Regions from separate parts of the Homo sapiens genome. Here all the other regions are linked to region 4. Evidence: promoter capture Hi-C in 16 types of primary human blood cells and fetal thymus (Javierre and others, 2016). All regions are on one chromosome and are shown on one strand. Each heading gives the region's core, a stretch centred on a gene start or on the middle of the fragment in contact. The rest is flanking DNA. Distances are from core to core; before and after follow the strand shown. Region 1 overlaps PTPRG (protein tyrosine phosphatase receptor type G). Region 2 overlaps PTPRG (protein tyrosine phosphatase receptor type G). Region 3 overlaps PTPRG (protein tyrosine phosphatase receptor type G). Region 4 holds the start of PTPRG (protein tyrosine phosphatase receptor type G). Region 5 overlaps PTPRG (protein tyrosine phosphatase receptor type G). Region 6 overlaps PTPRG (protein tyrosine phosphatase receptor type G).

Region 1 (2,868 bases), core at 76-2,575, 290 kb after region 4:
GAGACATATTCTGATTGAGGTTCTAGTACAGCTGCTACAATCAGTTTCTTCTCTTTGCCTTCAGTAGCATAATTGTGGAGGTGAAAAATCAGAAGGGGTAGTTCAAAAAGTAGTTTTCATGTTAAACAGCCATTTTAAATTGGAGTCACGTAATTTTCCAGTGTCTTATGATTATAGCTATCTAGATTGGCTGACCCTCAGAAACTGTGATGAGGTTAATATTAGTGGTTTTAGGCCACTAGATTTTGAGGTAATCTCTTATGCAGCAATAGATAACTAATACAATGTTGATACAATTGGGGCTGTATTTTTGGTTGATGGTAAAATATTTTGAGTTCTTTTGGAACTAGATTTTAGGGAGTTTAATAAACCCATTTTTGTTAATTTCTTTTTAAGGTGTTTGGATACAGTATTAGCTGATACTACTTTTCTCTCTCTTTGCGTCTGTCCTTCACTAAACATAATCTTTGAAAAGGAGACATTTTTGTTTGTTTGCTGTGCTTTCCAAGAAGGATGGGGTCTGACTTTCTCTTTTTATGGTCAGTTATAAAGTTGTAATAAGGATTATTTTGACCTTTCTGGAGAATATGTCATGACAATTATATTTCAAGCATGTTATACAGTGATTATAAGGTGGGTCCAGTACTTGGAATAACAATTCACAAATGGAATTTTACAGTAAGACACAGATCTATGTTTAGACAAACCTACTTGCATACTTCGGATTTTCTTACCTGAAGAGTTTTTTAAAAACCATGGACATATACTGTTAGCATCCAGCTTCAGTGACGTTATAATTGGGATGAGGTCTTACTGATAAATATTGTGTTTCTTACGAACATGGAAGCTGAGTCCCAGAGAGTTAAATTGATGAGTCTTTGGTTTAGAGGCAGAATCAAGATAGAATTGGAGACTCTGTATTTCTAGGTTACTTTGTGGTCTTTGTATTATGGTGCCTATGTCTTTGTCAAGTTCACGGTGGCTATGGAGATCCTGAGCTTTGAGGGCCATGTGTGAAAGCACCATGCAACAGTTTGCCTTATGAAAATTGCCTGATTTATTCTTGTTTCCAGGGGCCTATTTTAGAAATGTTATCTCAGTAACGCGTATGGACATACATGCATGGACTTGCAAAGGTCCTAAAAGCTGGACGTCTCAAAGACCTCACCTTTATGAGTAAAGTAGACATTGATTGCCACTGCCTACCTGACATCCATGTCCCTTCCTCTTTGCATCTGTTCATCTAAATTCCATTTATTGAATGATTTCTTTGTAACAGCTGTTGTGTTACATGCAGGGGATAGGATAGTGACCAAAGCATACAAACATGCTTGTCCTTGCGGAGCTTACGTTCTACTGTGGGAAACAGACAAAGAGTAAGAAGTATGTTGTATGATGATAAGTTCTAAATAGAAAACATTAAAGCAGGGAAGGGGGGTTTGAGAAAATGGAAATTTTAGAGAAGGTGTGTGCGAGGTTCAGAATGGCCCCCATAATCCCCACTTCCAGGTATTCACACCCTTTTTTAGTCTTGTTAAACAAAGAGAGCTGGTTTGTGTGATCAGTTGACGATGGCAGAGGTGACACTGTGTGACTTCTTAAGACCAGGCCGTAAAGGAATTGCGGCTTCTGCCTTTGGGCTTACTATTGATTGTTTCCTTTGGAACAAGCTCACTCCAATATCATTAGAACGCTGGGGAAGAACTGAGGCTCCACCAACAGCTGGTACCATTTTGCTGGCCATGTGATTGAACCACTTAGGAAATGGATCCTCCAGTCCATGTTAAGCCTCAGATAACTGCTGACCCAGCTGACATCTTGACTGCAATCTCATTTAGAAAACTTGTTTCAGAACTGCACAGCTAAGCCATTGCTACATTCCTGACCTATAGAGATGGTGACAGATAATAAATGTTTATTGATGTTCTAACTTAGTGAGTTTTGGGGGATTTAGTTACACAGCATATGACAACTAAGATGCAGAGTGCTAGGAAAGTCTTTACATAAAATATTCCTTTTGGGGAATTCACTGTGACCCCTTTGTTTTCTCCTCCAAGTTGATGTGTTCTGGGGTGAGCTGTTTTCCTTCTCTGGGCTCTAGGAATGGACACATGACCCAGGTCTGGTCATTTAGGTTGTTAAGATTGCTTTGATTGGATTGGAGATGAATATGTGGCCATGGCCATCTAATGAAAGTCTCCTGTGCTTTACTTCAAATGGCCACATCAAAGTCCTTCCTGTGCTGAGGCTTCTGTGCTTTTCAGAACATAAGCTCAGAGGAACCGGTGGCCATTCAAAAGAGAAAGGCCTGTTTGAGAGTGCAGCCAGCACTGGAATGCAGAACTGAGTTGACAGCAAGAGAATGAGATCTCTTGAGAGAACAGCAGCCCTGTGCTGCTAGAAGGTAGCAGTACTACACACATGCACAACAGATGTACCCCCTGAATAGTTACGTGAGACAATAACCTCCTTGCCCTTTGGTTTTCTTTTGTTTAGGCCACTTTGAGGTGGGATGGTTTCACTTTAAACCAGTGCCCTGAGTTTTCACCATAATTATAAAAACATTGAGCCTCGGTTTCTTATCTGTAAAATAGGTCTGATTTCACCTATTCTCATCTATAGGCTGTGAGAAATTAATAAGGGAAGACAGGTAAAGTACCTGGCAAAAAATTGATTCCTCTGTCTTCTCTATTTACTCTGTTTCTCCTTCCTGCAACTATGTACCCCATTTTGTTTGTTCTCCTAAGGTCTGTGCCTGTTCAGTGTGTACACATACATATTCATGGACATATGAATACATGCTTTTTAAAACGTGCACTATTAGGGAAACTGTACTGGTGCACTGTAATATACATGCAGCATTGTCAG
Region 2 (2,975 bases), core at 319-2,818, 370 kb after region 4:
ATGTGTTGCGTCTTACTTTTGAGTTACTGTGAACAACTGTTTTCTTCATCTGCCAGTTAAAGACAAATTACAAGGAGGAAAGGATGGAAAATACAGGAAAAGAGTGTGAAAGCCCAAGAACTTAAAGCTCTGGATGTACAGTTGTTCTTTTTTGTGGAGTCAAGCGTCATTGTGGCATCCTCTATGGGTGTTCCAAAATTACAATTATAGTTAGAGAAATAATATAGGTAATTATGCTGTCGAACCACTGTAAAGGAGAGCACGTAAAAGAAGGCAGTGCGGCCAGGCGCAGTGGCTCATGCTTGTAATCCTAGCACTTTGGGAGGCCGAGGCCGGTGGATCATCACGAGGTCAGGAGTTCGAGACCAGCCTGGCCAATATGGTGAAACCCCATCTCTACTAAAAAATACAAAATACAGAAATTAGCCGGGCATGGTGGCGCACCTGTAGTCCCAGCTACTCGGGAAGCAGAAGAATCACTTGAACCTGGGAGGCAGAGGTTGCAGTGAGCTGAGATCACGCCACTGCAGTCCAGCCTGGGTGACAGAGTGCAGCGCCTAATTCATTGCTTAGAAGGGCCCAAAGCTCCTTCCTGCCCGTGGGCCATGTGCTGTGGTTCCTGCAGCCTCCCCAACCTGATCTTCTCTGTTTGCTTTTGCTCATTTTGCTTCTGCAGCACTCACTGCTGGGCCACTTTGCTCTGTTCTGATTTGCATTCTTGTTCTGTGCTACCTGTGCCTGGAAGGCTCTGGAAGGTTTTGCGATGTTGAGCGCATTTTCACCCTCAACAGTTCTGCTTAAAGGTTTATTACTTGTTGTGGCTAACTCCAAGTTACTTTGCTGCCGTTTTTCTGGAATCCTGCTTGATGATATTTGGTAAATAGAATAATGTTGGCACAGACACACTGCTCTTCTGTTTCATGTGTGGTAGTGGTATGTCCACAGTCTTTTTTGATTCTTCCCTTACTAAGTCATGGCCACGTTACCCGTGCTGCCTCCGGAGCTAAGCTAACCTCACTGGATCTGCTGGCGAGGGACTGTGTGTCCCGGGCCCAAATGGGTTACTGCTCTTACACAAGTCAAGACCCCGTGTCCTCTTAGAGCTGCCTTCCCACCCTCTTCTAACCTTGACTTTACTAATTTAAGTTTATGATCTAACATGATCAAACGCACAACTGAGTCTATGTTGTTTACTTTCTGGTGGCTTCAAAGAATATCCAACCACCTCCATTCCCCTCAAAACAAAAACAAAAACAAAAACACCAGGAGATTCATTCAAGGATGATGACCATATTATCATTTTTCATTGTCTGATCCATGTTATTTGTTGAGTGGATGTTATGACAAACTCTCATGTTTAATAACAAAATCGTGTTTCTGTTCTTAGCTCCAAAGCCAGACCTTTGGTCCTAAAGTTTTTGAAGCTTCTGGTTGAAACATTGCTCTTCTATGTTGTCTTCCTTTCTTAGGAATGGTCAACCTTTATTGTACTCATGACATTCATCATTTGTATTTTCATTTTTTATTTTTTTACTATTTAAAACATGTTTTTTGCTAACAATATTTTCCCCTGCCAAAATCTGTTTGCTTTTAAAAAATGAATTAGCTTAGATTTACTCTCCAGGTCAATTATATATCTACCACTAAGTGTGTGTCAGATGGGGTCTGCAGGTGTGGGACCAACTAGCTCCTTTCTGAAGCCAATGGTTTGGTAAAGCTTTGTGACCTGAGAGCTGCATCTTTGGATTGGATATTACATAGATTCTTGTAATGCAGCACTGCATGGAATTATCCCAATGTGGGCATCGGTGTTGAACACAACAGACCATAAAATTCCATTTCATTTCTGTTGCATAAACATAGGATCACAAATAGTGTGATTATTTCTAGCAGCCTCAGGCGTCTTAGCCAGGGGGAACATGTAGGAGACTATGAATACTTAAATATATTATAAGCTTCCCCACATGAGCTGACCAAGTACCTTTGACACTAGCCTTTAAAAGGGTCGAATATAAAAACCTCTAATACGGTCACTTGCTGAGTTCTTACTGTGTGCAAGGCGCTGTTTTCATGCTTTCATTTGCATTATCACAGCAAGTCTTCAAGCTAGCATTGTAGTGCATTATATTCTCACTTCACAGCTGAGGGCATGGAAGCCCAGAGAGGTCATGACACTTGGCAGAATTGCACAGTAAGGGCAAAAGGTGGGTTTTGAACCCATGTCTTTTGACTCAAAACTTGTAACCACCACCACCAAAATCTTGGTCAGAAACAATTCAGTTTCTCTCACAGTTGCTTTGATCTTGATTGGCTTTCCCTTATGGGTTTTTCAGGCGCAGCATTCTCGTGTTCTCCTTGTCTCAGTATTTCATGGGAGGCAGGCAGTGCCGCAGAGCCTTGAGGAAGACTAATCTGGACCAAGACTGGGGCTAGAATAAATGAATGAAACCCCCCACTTGCTACTTCACTTTTAGCTAAAAAGTCCAAAATGGTTAAATTGGCTGTCTGAAACCCATATGGCTGAGAATTTGTGGTCAGACAAGCAAAACTGAGCACAGCCTCTGCTGCGATCCTGTGATTGGGGTCCCCAAAGCAAATGTCTGTTGGAGTTCCTCAGAAAGCATAAATATGCAAAACAAAAAGGTAAAAGACAGTAGGAAATAGTGGAGCTGGGGTCTATGTGGAAAGGTACATTTCTCTTTTCAACTTCAGGTTAAAAAGTAGTAACAAAATCCTAAAAACCTGGTGGTGAATCAAAATGATGCTGAGATACGATTTTGTCCCCTCTGCAGTAAGAGTGCTGATCTGTGATGGCAGAGATCTTTTTTATTCTTTTTTGCTCTCAACTATTAATTGTACTGGGTACCTGATGGGCACTCATTAAATATGTTGTGAACAAATAACAAACCACTGTAAGACTCAGTTTTCTCATCTATAAAATAGTCATGATGAGAGTTCACAGCTCAGGGGGTAAA
Region 3 (2,887 bases), core at 44-2,543, 390 kb after region 4:
TTCTTCTTTGTATGGTTCTAAGAATTCTTTACACATTTAGTTCTGGATTATTTCGTGGGAAGATGGCTCCCAATCTGCTCTCTCTAGTCTCCTTGAGGGCAGAGGACTCCCCTAATTTCCTGTGTATTTCCAGCGCTTGTTTCCGTGTCTGGTTCTGAGATAGTCTACACAGAGTGTTTTTTGGGGAATGTGCAAGGGTTTCTTCTTGGCAACAATTGACTTCTACTGTTTTACAAAGTACAGAGAGGCTGTGCTCTGTTGCTGATGGGGTTACTTGATTCTGTGAAGTGCTCTTTTCTGACTGGTATTAGCAAGTAACGCAAACCCAAATTTTAAAAATGATAGAATCGGCCTGGCGTGGTGGCTCACGCCTGTAATCCCAGCACTTTGGGAGGCCGAGGCGGGCAGATCACGAGGTCAGGAGATCAAGACCATCCTGGCCAACATGGGGAAACCCTGTCTTTACTAAAAATACAAAAATTAGCTGGGTGTGGTGGTGCGTGCCTGTAATCTCAGCGACTTGGGAGGCTGAGGCAGGAGAATCACTTGAACCAGGGAGTCGGAGGTTGCAGTGAGCTGAGATCACGCCACAGCACTGCAGCCTGGCGACAGATCGACACTCCACCTCAGAAAAAAAAAAAAAAAAAAAAAAAGACAGTATCAGAATCCCAGTCTTCCTCAGACCTCATATGTGGAGGCAGTGCATGTTTAGCAAACCTGGGGCCCTGGGAGCCACCACTGACTGTTAGGACCACTTTAGTGCCTGTGCTGTAAGCCAGGATTTTGAAGTTCTTGGGGGCAATTTTGCTTTAAGCAGTGTTAGGGAACTCTTTACAGGTTTGTGAGCTGGGAGTGACAAGCCATTATTTTATCCACACCAAAGCTTTGAATGATAAAGGGGTTGAACCACTGTCATTCATTAAATTCATTAACTGTTGGAATTCCTCTAAGGATCTATCTGCAGGCCCCTTCTCTTCTCACTCTGTACACGGTCTCCCCAGGCAACTTCATAATGGCTAAAATTACCATCTATTCCAAGAGCATGCTCAAATTGATATTTCTGGCTGAAATCTCCCTTTTGAGATTAAAGCCCTTATCACCTACTTCCTCCTTGACGCCGGAGTTCTCAGGACACCTTAAAACCAAGTTCAGTATCTCTGCCCATTTCTGCTTCCTTACCTTTAAACCTGTTCCTCATTCAGTCCTTTCTGTCCCCAGGAGTGGCAGAAACATAATCCATTTGCCCTAGCCTCAAACCTGGGATGTCTGTCTTCCTCCGTCTACAATTAATCATCAGCCAGCTCCTATCAGTGTCACTTGAATCCATATTTTCTCCCCTACTCACTGCCACCACTAAATAGTAATCTCTTGCCTTCTGTGGAAGCTGTAGAACATCGCTTCAAGTTTACCCTCTTGTGACCCACTGTTGTCTACACAGAAAATCTGGAGGAACCTTTAAAAATGGGAATATGAATGTATCACTCCTGTGTCAGTAACTATTCTGGGACCATTTTTGTGGCTTCCAATAGGTCTCAGGATACATCCTAGGATCCAGCAATGACTTTTCTTAATTTCTCGCCCTTTCTACTTACCGTGCCCCAGGTCAAGCCCACAATTTTCCCTACACCTACTGCTGTCTCTACTCAGAAACGCTTTCCCTCCTCCCAACCTGCTTCACCTGGTTGAATTCTAGCTCCTGTTTCAGAAGCTTAGCTTTAATCACTTCCTTCAGGAGGCTTTTCTTGCCCCCAGCTAAGTCAGAGCCTTACTCTTCTCCCACCCACCCTTGCTCTGCTACTGACAATGAAGAATTGCTTGAAAGGGGCAAAAATAGAGAGAAACTAGATACTGACACAGGCACGCAGGCAAAAGGAATGGTTAGAAAAAAGGAATTGCTGGTCAATTTCGCCATTATTGACTTTGTCCCTTGGTATTTAAAAACCTAGGCAGGTCCCCTAGTATCAGTGCCTCTAGGAACGTGAGCACTTCTGGATGCCGGGCAGCACTTCTAAAGGTTACCTACGGGCTCCCTAGTAAATTAAGGTTGTATATTGCAATGGCAATTAAGCAGTGTAATAAATGTGATTGTTGTGGTGGTTCTATGGGGAGGGGAGACTCTTCCCACAGGCTGGGTTCCTTTCCTGCTGCTTGTCTAATTAACATAATTTCTAGCCCCAAGGCTCACTGCTGCATTTTCTTCTCCAATGTAGAAGGGTGATGGAGATGCACCTTCCATTCTTTCAGCACGTCAGTCATACTAAACTACACTCTGTGAGGGCCAGGGGAAGGAAACAAAAACCCTTCTGTGTATGTAGAGTAAGAAGTTCTACTCTAAAGCACAAATGCTCCAGAGAAAATACAAGGGAGTGTATTTTCTGCTGCTGTACAATCTGCTGCTCTCTTCAGATGCTTTGACCTGTTCCTATAGTGACTTTGTCACATGATTCTGAATTTAAGGATACATCTACTTCCTACATAAGACTAAGTTGCAAACCAGCTGCAAATATGTAGTACTCCCTTGGATGAAGAGTGTTGGATTGGAAATCTGGGGAGAGGACAGACTCATTGGTCTTCCAGTTTGTTTTCCTAGAGATTTCTTGAGAGTAATTTTGACGATGCCCTGCTTGGTTTCATGTTACTTGCTGACTTCAGCACCTAAATCCCTTCCCTGCCCAACTTCCCGCCTCCACCAAACATACTGGTTCCTTACTGAGGTTTGAATGTAGGTTTGAATGTATGCATGGTTCCCTGTTAAAGTTCTCTTGTTTGAGGTTCATTTTTTAATAACCCTTGGCAGTGTGCTGGGAAATGTGTTAGTGGTATTAGTGGTGGTGTGCTGGGAAATGTATTGGTGGTAAATTTGTATATGTTTGTTTAAAGATGAGTG
Region 4 (2,700 bases), core at 95-2,594:
AACAAACAAAAAAAACCACCAAAAAAATAATCAGCCGGGCGTGGTGGCGGGCGCCTGTAGTCCCAGCTACTCGGGAGGCTGAGGCAGGAGAATCGCCCGAACCCGGGAGGCGAAGGTTGTAGTGAGCCGAAATCGAGCCACTGTACTCCAGCCTGGGCGACGGAGCGAGACTCCGTCTCAAAACAAAACAAAACAATCCCACGTCAAGATCGCTTTGAAACACAGGCAGAAAAATTAGGCAAAAAATGTCAAACGGCTAATTACCTTGGCTCAGTTACACATTTACTCGAAAGCCCGCCTCCCCCACTTTTAGCCCCAGCGTTAAGAATGTAAAATAGGGCGCTTAGAAGTCTAAGCGATAAAGATCTTCTTACCGAGAGCCAAGGGACAAAACTCATTACAGATAAGCCTAGTCCTCCCATTTCCCCCGGACGCCTCTCCCCGATTGCTAAAGAAGCAGCCGCTCCCCGGGTAGCTGCCAGGAAATCAGTCCGGCCCCGCGGCGCTGCTTTCACCCTGCAGGGTGTAAGAGGCGCACTTCCTGCGCCCTCCCCGCGGCCAAACCGGGGTGCGGGAACCTTCTCCAGAGAAGCTGCGAGTTGGGGAAACTCCGCCACCGATCCATCGTGGCGCCGGGAAAGGGGATGCGGGGCTCGGAAGGGCTAGATTTCGCAATCCTGGGATCGACATTCCTCCCCTCCCCCACTTTCCCCAGCCTTGGACTGGGCCAATGAAAGCCCGAAAAAGAAAAAAAAAAAAAATTAAATCTCAATGTAGCCGGAGTGCAAAGGCCGCTCGGCTTTGTTTCCCGGCGGGGGAATGCGCTGTGTTGGAGGCGCGAACAGGAGCCGCAGACGGTGAGCCTCACCGCTGCAAATGCCAGGGCAGTGAAGCCGAACAGAAAACCCCATCGCTTTAAAAAGGCAGCTGTCCGCCCTCCCCCTTTCCCCTCGCCAGGGCGAGGGGCCCCTCAAGTCCGGGATCCGCGAGCTGCGCGGAGGATCTCGCCAAACCCGAGCACCGTGCGGCGTCTTTTAAGAGCTCGAACAACGGGAATCCAGCAAAAAACAAGCCGGCCCCAGAAGGCAGCCTCCCTCCTCTCTCCGCGCACGGGCTACAATCGCCCCCAGTCCCCAAACTGTCCCAGTAGAGGCCGCGCGGAGAGAGCAGAGCCGAGGGACCCAGCGCAAGGCGGGAGCCAAGCGCGGCTGCTTTAAGAACGCGGAGAGCGCGCGCCCGCCGCCAGCTGGCCCGGGCTGCGCGCCCCCGCCGCCACCGCGCGCCCCCTGTTCGCTCGCTCCTTCGCTCGCCGGCTTTAAAGTCTCTGCCAGGATCCATGCTCACATGTTACTTCCTGTATGGAGGCATGGCCAGTTTCCAGCCCCGCGCTCTTCGTTCCTTCCCAGCCTGCGCCGGAGCCACAACTTTCAGGAGCATGGACTGAAGGCGCCCTCGCCCCAGCGCCCCTCTGAGATCCTTTGTGTTTTCCTCCGTTTCCTCCGGCCGTTTCTATTTTGGGGGGCTCTCCGCTCCCCCTGCCTCTCCCCTCCCCTTCCCCTCTCGCAAACATGCCTCCTTCCTTCCCGGGGCCCTGGAAGGAGCTGCCTGCCTGAAGCCCGGAGACGCCGCGCCGCGCTCAGCCCCGCCGCCGCCCGCCGGCTCTCGGGCTGTGCTGCGCTGCCGACTCAAGTTGGGGATCCTCGGCTGCTCGCCGCCGCCGCCCGCGGTCCCTGCCTGCCCCAGGCCCGGGGCATCGCCGCCGGCCGCCGACTCCGCGCCCTGCCCGATCGGCTCTCTCCTTTTTAAACGGAAAGCAGCCTTTCTCCGCCGAGAGGATCGTCCCCAGCGTGGCTCTGCGTTCCCGGTCACTTTTTGAGATTTTCCGGGGGGCGCTCGGCGGCTTCCCGGATTCCAAGGGGACTCGGGCCGCCGAGCGCGGGGGGCCCGTGGAGCGGGCGAGCCGGGGAAGCGCCCCGGCTTAGCGGAGGCTCGCACGGAGGCAAGAACTTATTCAACAAGTTTACCTCCCTGCTTTCCTCTTTTCGATGTGCGTTTTCGGACATGCGGAGGTTACTGGAACCGTGTTGGTGGATTTTGTTCCTGAAAATCACCAGTTCCGTGCTCCATTATGTCGTGTGCTTCCCCGGTGAGTGCCGGCCGCCGAGGGGATGCGGCCCCGGCCGGCGCGCGTTGGGGATGCGGAGTTGTCGCCTGGGCGCGGAGCTCCGGCGCCCGTCCGGGAGACCCTGGAGAGGGTGGAGGGTGGCCCGGCGCCCGGATAGGAGAAAAGGATTGCTCCGCTGGCTTGGATGATGTTTAGGGAGGCAGGCTAGTGGTCGAGGAAGGTGGAGGCAGGGGCTGGCCGGGGAGGGGGCTGGGGGACGCGGGGGTCTGCTCCCGCTCCCTTTTGGGGGTCCTGGGGAGCTGGAATCGGGAGAAAGGGGGACTTGCTTTGCTGACTCGTCGCCGATCGGGAGAACTCGAGTTGTGGGGCGGTTGGGGAGACTGAGGCCATGGAAAGGATGCTTCTGTGGGTTTGGGGGGCCCGGGATGAGCCCCCTCGCTCTGGCGGGTATTGAAGGAACTCAGAAGGTGGGGGTTTGCTTTGCTGTTCTCCATCCCTTTGGGAGGGCTAGGTTTCGGGGAATGGAAGTCGGAGGCTGGCTGCGGAGGACTGAGGATGTGTGGGGAGCAGCCTGC
Region 5 (2,720 bases), core at 27-2,526, 420 kb after region 4:
TGATAACTTTGTTAGTATCTCAGATACTTGTTGAAGCCAGTTTCCTGTTGTATCTATGAGAAGCAGGAATAAAGCTGGTACAACTTTAAGTCAGCCTAGTTAGGTTTGGGGTGAATAAATGATCCCAATTATTGGTAGAAATTTTTAATGAATGTTTGGATGTGGGGTGGATTCAACTTGAAAGATATAACTTTTAAATCCCAGATACACCTAAACATGCATAGGTCAAAGACTTTTAAGTCTTTAAAGGACCTTCAGAATCTTGCAGTGTGTGGATGGCATGCATATTCATGGTTTGCACTCTAATAATGTCATATTATACACCCATGCGGGCATCACTAATCAGTCAACTCCTTTTGAGCCTTTACTCAGCCTAGAGGTCTGTGGCTCAGAACTAAAAGGTAGCCATTATTGCCATCTTTACTCTTTTTAATACCCTCCTTTTCCAGAACAGTAAAACAGGCTCCAGAGAAGCTTTTTACCATCAGGATTAGAGTCTGGGACCTCCAGTTTAGGCATTGGTACTGAATGAAATTTTACCTGAAATAGTTTTAACATCCAGTCCTAAAATAGACACCCTGGGAAATTAGACAGATAATGGTATTAAAAAATGAACAAAGTAGTTAGTTTCTATTTCTGGTGTTATTGTCTGATATTACTTCTGGTATTATGGTTAGTTGTTGATAGTTTTCTTTAAGCACACCATTGATATGAAATGGAGTACTGCAGTTTTTACACCTTAAATTTAAAACCAAAAAATGTGTATTTCATTATTTGCAAAGTAACTTTATATTTTCTTAACTGGTTTAAAATTTAGAATATTTCTATCAACAAAGTTGAGCAGCTTTATAACTGAATATGAATAAAGTAAAAATAGTGGCAAGCAGTAATATGCATGCCTTTTAAGACTTTTTCCATTTTTCGTGTACACACAAACAATAAATGCACAAGAAGTAATTAAGCTATTAGTACTGGAGAATGCAAAAGAATTGTAATCAGAATCCCATAAAGATTTTAATTAAAACATGGAATAATTTAAACCTGTGTATTCGATTTCGGATAAAAAGCATTAATTATAATAGGTAAAAATGATACACATATTTTTGGATTGTTGCTATTGGTTAAAAGTAGACAACAAAATGCAGAGTAATAAGCCTGGATTCAGGTAATATTTGTAATATAAGTTTATTGAGAGAGGCATTAATAAGCATATTTGACTAGAAACAGCACATAACATGTATATTAGTTTTGTTTTTAATTAGATTTAGACAGAATTCATTATTTTTAATGGCTTTTCATTAGTGAATAGGAACCATTATTTGGATCTATTGTGGTAAAATAAATTCAAGGTACATGCTTATTTTCAGCAAAGAACCTCTTAGGTATTTAAAGAAACCACTGTTTGGAACATGAATCATATATAGGTATGTGAAATTCCTTGCTTTTAGACAAAAGTATGATTTCTATGCTCATACAACTTTTATCTTAGGTCAGTTATTAACAGAGAACTATACTGAAGTGAGACAGTTTGCTTAAATTGTAGAAAATTCTTGTTGTTGACCAGTTTTATTTGTCCTTATTTGGACTTTTCAAGTAGTATTGCTGGGGCTGATGGTAGGGCAACATTAAGGTGTTTCTCTCAGATTTTTATATGATATTTGTTTGAATAGAATTAACTAGCATTGATTTAAAATTTATATGTGTCGACCAAGTTCTTTGGGCTAACTCTGCCTTAAAGAAACTGAGTATGAAGTGAAGTCTCAGATTCAAGCCCAGATTTACAGTATTTGCCATTATTTTCATGTGAGGAATTCTATCTGCCTTAAACAGACCAGTTGGAATTAATCTCCAATTGTGTGATTTATTCTCCCTACTGTGGAAATATGTCTTCCTGATGCTAGTCTACTGAATTGTAACATCTCAAAATGAGAAAAATACAGTGACTTGTGAATGGCACACTAAGGAGGTAGAAGTGGATTATTTTAATGCAGAAATGAGCTATAGGTTAAGCTAATGATGTTTTTCTTAATGACAGCTTTAAAAACTGAATTTCTCCAACTTTATATAAGGTTTTTATATAAGCTTAAATAATATCACCCATGAACTTGATTATTTTCTTTACCGTAGTCTCTTGTTTCCTTCGTCTTTTGTGTTTGCAGACTCCATTTATCCAAAAAGAATATGACAGTCATCCCAGTATTACCCATAAATCAGTGCCCATCTCCCTCATCTATCATGCCATAGACACGGCCTAAGTGCATACCAGTAAATCCAGTAAAACCTGGTTAGTAAAATTTAACTTATTTAACACAACTTATATTTTACTTGGCTTCTATGCAGTTTGCTCCATAATTTCTTCATTTCATTGTCAGAGTAGCCACAAAAGAATGACCTTTTGACAAGGACCTACTAGGAACCCAACATGGGTGTGTTTACTATTAACTGAGCACCAAACTTTACTCAGAGCTCATGAGTTTTTCCATTAATTTTTGTTTTTGATTCCACCATTCAATCTAGAGCACCACATTCTATTTATTGTCTGTGTCTCCTTAATCTTCTCTGATCTCTGACAGTGTTTTAGTCTTTCTCATGACCTTGACACTTTTGAGGAGTGTTTGTCAATTATATAGAATGTTTGTCAATTATATAGAATGTTCCCCAATTTGGGTTTGTCTGATGTATTCCCCATGATTATACCAGGGTTGTGAATTTTTGGAAAG
Region 6 (2,844 bases), core at 125-2,624, 280 kb after region 4:
TTGTGATCCAGCCACCTCAGCCTCCCAAAGTGCTGGGATTATAGGCATGAACCACCACGCCCAGCCCGTTCCTGCTATTTAAGTCCTTAATGGCCTGGCCTTGTTGGTAGTCTGAAGTGTCACATCAGTGGTTCTTAAACCAACCTTTTTATCAGGATCACTTTGGGCATATGTTAAAATATACACACGTGGGCCGGGCACAGTGGCTCACACCTGTAATCCCAGCACTTTGGGAGGCCGAGGTGGGTGGATCACCTGAGAGGTCAGGAGTTCGAGATCAGCCTGGGCAACATGGTGAAACCCCATCTCTGTTAAAAATGCAAAATTAGCCAGGCATGGTGGCACATGCCTGTAATTCCAGCTACTTGGGAGGCTAAGGCAGGAGAATTGCTTGAAGCTGGGAGGTGGAGGATGCGGTGAGCTAAGATCGCGCCATTGCACTCCAGCCTGGGCAACAAGAGTAAATCTCCGTCTCACCCCCCGCGCCCCCCCCCACCAAAAAAAAAAATATATATATATATACACACACACACACCTGAACCCCACTGCAGATTAATGGCTCTTTGGATATTTGTAGGCCTGCTCTTTGTTCTTACAGCTATGTGTAGGAATCACTGGTAAGTCTTTACCTTCCTTGTCTCTTCTCTTTCCAAACCATTGTTCTTTGTTTAGGCCTTTGTTATAGAACATAGCCCTTTTCTGTTCATCCACTACCCTCTGACCTCTCTGATTCATGTACCCCTCACCTTCCTCATTGTTTTCTGAGTGTGTAGTACATAGTAAGTGCTTGAAAGTGGTTGAAGTAATGCAGTTTAAAGTTGTAACATTTTGAGGCCTGGTGTTGATCTACAAAGATGGTAGGCTCAGTTCCAAACAAGACACTAGCCTTTCCTGTCTCCTGGAGGCCAGCTTTACTTAGGGATAGTGATAATAAAATATAGCAGCTACTATTTACTATGCTCTTACTACCTTCCGGGTACTTTGCATAATGCCTCTCAGACATTATTGACATCAAGGCCTGAACTAGGAATATCAGATAATAATATCTATTGCCATCACTTTGTAGTTGAGGAAATAGAGGTGCAGTAAGTTTTAATAACTTGCTGAAGATGATGCAGTTTGTAAATGGGTGAAGTTCTGTTTGAAACCAGTTTTTTTGTTGTTGTTGTTGTTTTTTGTTTTTTTATTTGTTTTTTTCAGACGGAGTCTCTGTCTGTCACCCAGGCTGGAGTGCAATGGCACAATCTCGGCTCACTGCAACCTCTGCCTCCCGGGTTCAAGCAGTTCTCCTGCGTCAGCCTCCCTAGTAGCTGGGACTACAGGCACACGCCACCAGGCCTGGCTGATTTTTTTTTTTTCTTTTGAGATGGAGTCTTGCTCAGTCGCCCAGGCTGGAGTGCAATGGCACAATCTCGGCTTACTGCAGCCTTCACCTCCTGGGTTAAAGCGATTCTCCTGTCTCACCCCCCAGAGTAGCTGGGATTACAGGTAGGCACCCATCATCATGCCCGGCCAATTTTTGTATTTTTGTAAAGATGGGTTTTATCATATTGGCCACTCTGGTCTTGTACTCCTGACCTCAGGTGATCCGCCTGTCTTGGCCTCCCAAAGTGTTGGGATTATAGGTGTGAACCACTGGACCTGGTTAATTTTTGTATTTTTAGTAGAGACAGTGTTTTGCCATGTTGGCCAGGCTGGTCTCGAACTCCTGACCTCAAGTGATCTGCCTGCCACAGCCACCCAAAGTGCTGGGATTCACAGGTGTGAGCCACCGCACCCAACCTGAATCCAGCTTTTTCATCTTTAGATCTTGACCTTTTGACAGTTACCCAGTAATATCTCCTAAAATGTGGGATACAGTAAAGTAACTGGAAGTTGAGTCACAAGCAGGGCTCCTGTTTGCCCATGTCTTGCTGAATGTTCGGCATGCAGGGGGTACTAGACTATTAAAGGCTGAATACGGAGGTGCAGCCTGAATAGTACGTCATAGACAAGAGCGGATCAGCAGCATTGATTGAACAATAGCAAGGTTTTAGCCTGGATTTTTGTGTTTGAGGTGAAGGAAGGGGATGAGGAATGTCTGTACACGTACACATGTACCATATTTTTCACTTGAGGGTGCTTTCACTGATCAATTTTGAGGGATTATTGAAAATAAGTGAAGACATTGAAACCAGATGTATTAGTCCATTAGGGCAGCTATAACACCACAAACTGGGTGACTTAACAGAAATTTGCTTTCTTACAGTGCAGGAGGCTGCCAGTCAAATATCAGTGTATTGCAAGTTTGCTTTCTTCTGAGGCCTCTCCCCTTGGTTTGGAGATGGCCACCTTCTCTGTGTGTCTTCACATGGCCTTCCCTGTCTTTCTTCTTCCTCTTACAGGGACATCAGCCTTAATGGATCAGGCCCCCGACACTTTTGCCCACATTTAACCTTATTCACCCCTTTAAAAACCCTGTCTCCAAATACAGCCCTGTGAGGGCTTCAACATATGAATGTTGCAGGGGAGGCACAATTAAGTTCACAACACCGGGATGGTTAAACAACTGCCCTGAGATTTCAGATGGTGAATGGGAGGGAACTGGGCCTAAAAGCTGGTTTCTAGGACAAGTGGTGAAGGTGCTCAGAATTATTGTCCTGAACTCAGTATGTGAGAAATAGTTAAATGGGGAAGGTTGTGCTGTTGGGTTATCTACCTGAAATCAGTTGAAGAATCGTTTTTGGTTTCAAATAATTAACCCTAGAAGTTGGGCCTGACTGGAGACTTAGGCCACCAAAACTAGACAGGTTTATATAGTTTCTTTTCCCTTTGAAAGGTCCCTTTTGGATTTAGTTTCAAAAT

Evidence for each region. The method cuts DNA at HindIII sites, captures the fragments that hold promoters and counts their contacts. A CHiCAGO score of 5 or more calls a contact.
Region 1: a fragment that was not itself captured here is called in contact with the fragment with the promoter of PTPRG in region 4 in 1 of 17 cell types (endothelial precursors); the score reaches 9.8 in endothelial precursors.
Region 2: a fragment that was not itself captured here is called in contact with the fragment with the promoter of PTPRG in region 4 in 1 of 17 cell types (endothelial precursors); the score reaches 5.8 in endothelial precursors.
Region 3: a fragment that was not itself captured here is called in contact with the fragment with the promoter of PTPRG in region 4 in 1 of 17 cell types (endothelial precursors); the score reaches 5.2 in endothelial precursors.
Region 5: a contact is called between a fragment that was not itself captured here and the fragment with the promoter of PTPRG in region 4, in 1 of 17 cell types (endothelial precursors). The highest score is 5.4, in endothelial precursors.
Region 6: a fragment that was not itself captured here is called in contact with the fragment with the promoter of PTPRG in region 4 in 1 of 17 cell types (endothelial precursors); the score reaches 6.3 in endothelial precursors.

What each region holds. Positions count from the first base shown.
Region 1 is chr3:61,851,754-61,854,621 of GRCh38, forward strand. The region is part of intron 2 of PTPRG (protein tyrosine phosphatase receptor type G); the gene reads left to right. Among named protein-coding and RNA genes, the nearest start is that of PTPRG, 290 kb to the left of the region's middle. The HindIII fragment of the contact is 4,297 bases long and covers 1-2,868 here.
Region 2 is chr3:61,930,498-61,933,472 of GRCh38, forward strand. The region is part of intron 2 of PTPRG (protein tyrosine phosphatase receptor type G); the gene reads left to right. Among named protein-coding and RNA genes, the nearest start is that of PTPRG, 370 kb to the left of the region's middle. The HindIII fragment of the contact is 293 bases long and covers 1,423-1,715 here.
Region 3 is chr3:61,951,489-61,954,375 of GRCh38, forward strand. The region is part of intron 2 of PTPRG (protein tyrosine phosphatase receptor type G); the gene reads left to right. Among named protein-coding and RNA genes, the nearest start is that of PTPRG-AS1, 370 kb to the right of the region's middle. The HindIII fragment of the contact is 825 bases long and covers 882-1,706 here.
Region 4 is chr3:61,560,227-61,562,926 of GRCh38, forward strand. It overlaps PTPRG (protein tyrosine phosphatase receptor type G), which reads left to right and starts at 1,345. Exons shown (of 30, transcript NM_002841.4): 1 at 1,345-2,146. The coding sequence starts at 2,062. RefSeq lists an enhancer at 1-122. The HindIII fragment of the contact is 7,216 bases long and covers 1-2,700 here.
Region 5 is chr3:61,982,248-61,984,967 of GRCh38, forward strand. The region is part of intron 2 of PTPRG (protein tyrosine phosphatase receptor type G); the gene reads left to right. Among named protein-coding and RNA genes, the nearest start is that of PTPRG-AS1, 340 kb to the right of the region's middle. The HindIII fragment of the contact is 1,608 bases long and covers 473-2,080 here.
Region 6 is chr3:61,835,566-61,838,409 of GRCh38, forward strand. The region is part of intron 2 of PTPRG (protein tyrosine phosphatase receptor type G); the gene reads left to right. Among named protein-coding and RNA genes, the nearest start is that of PTPRG, 280 kb to the left of the region's middle. The HindIII fragment of the contact is 3,948 bases long and covers 1-2,844 here.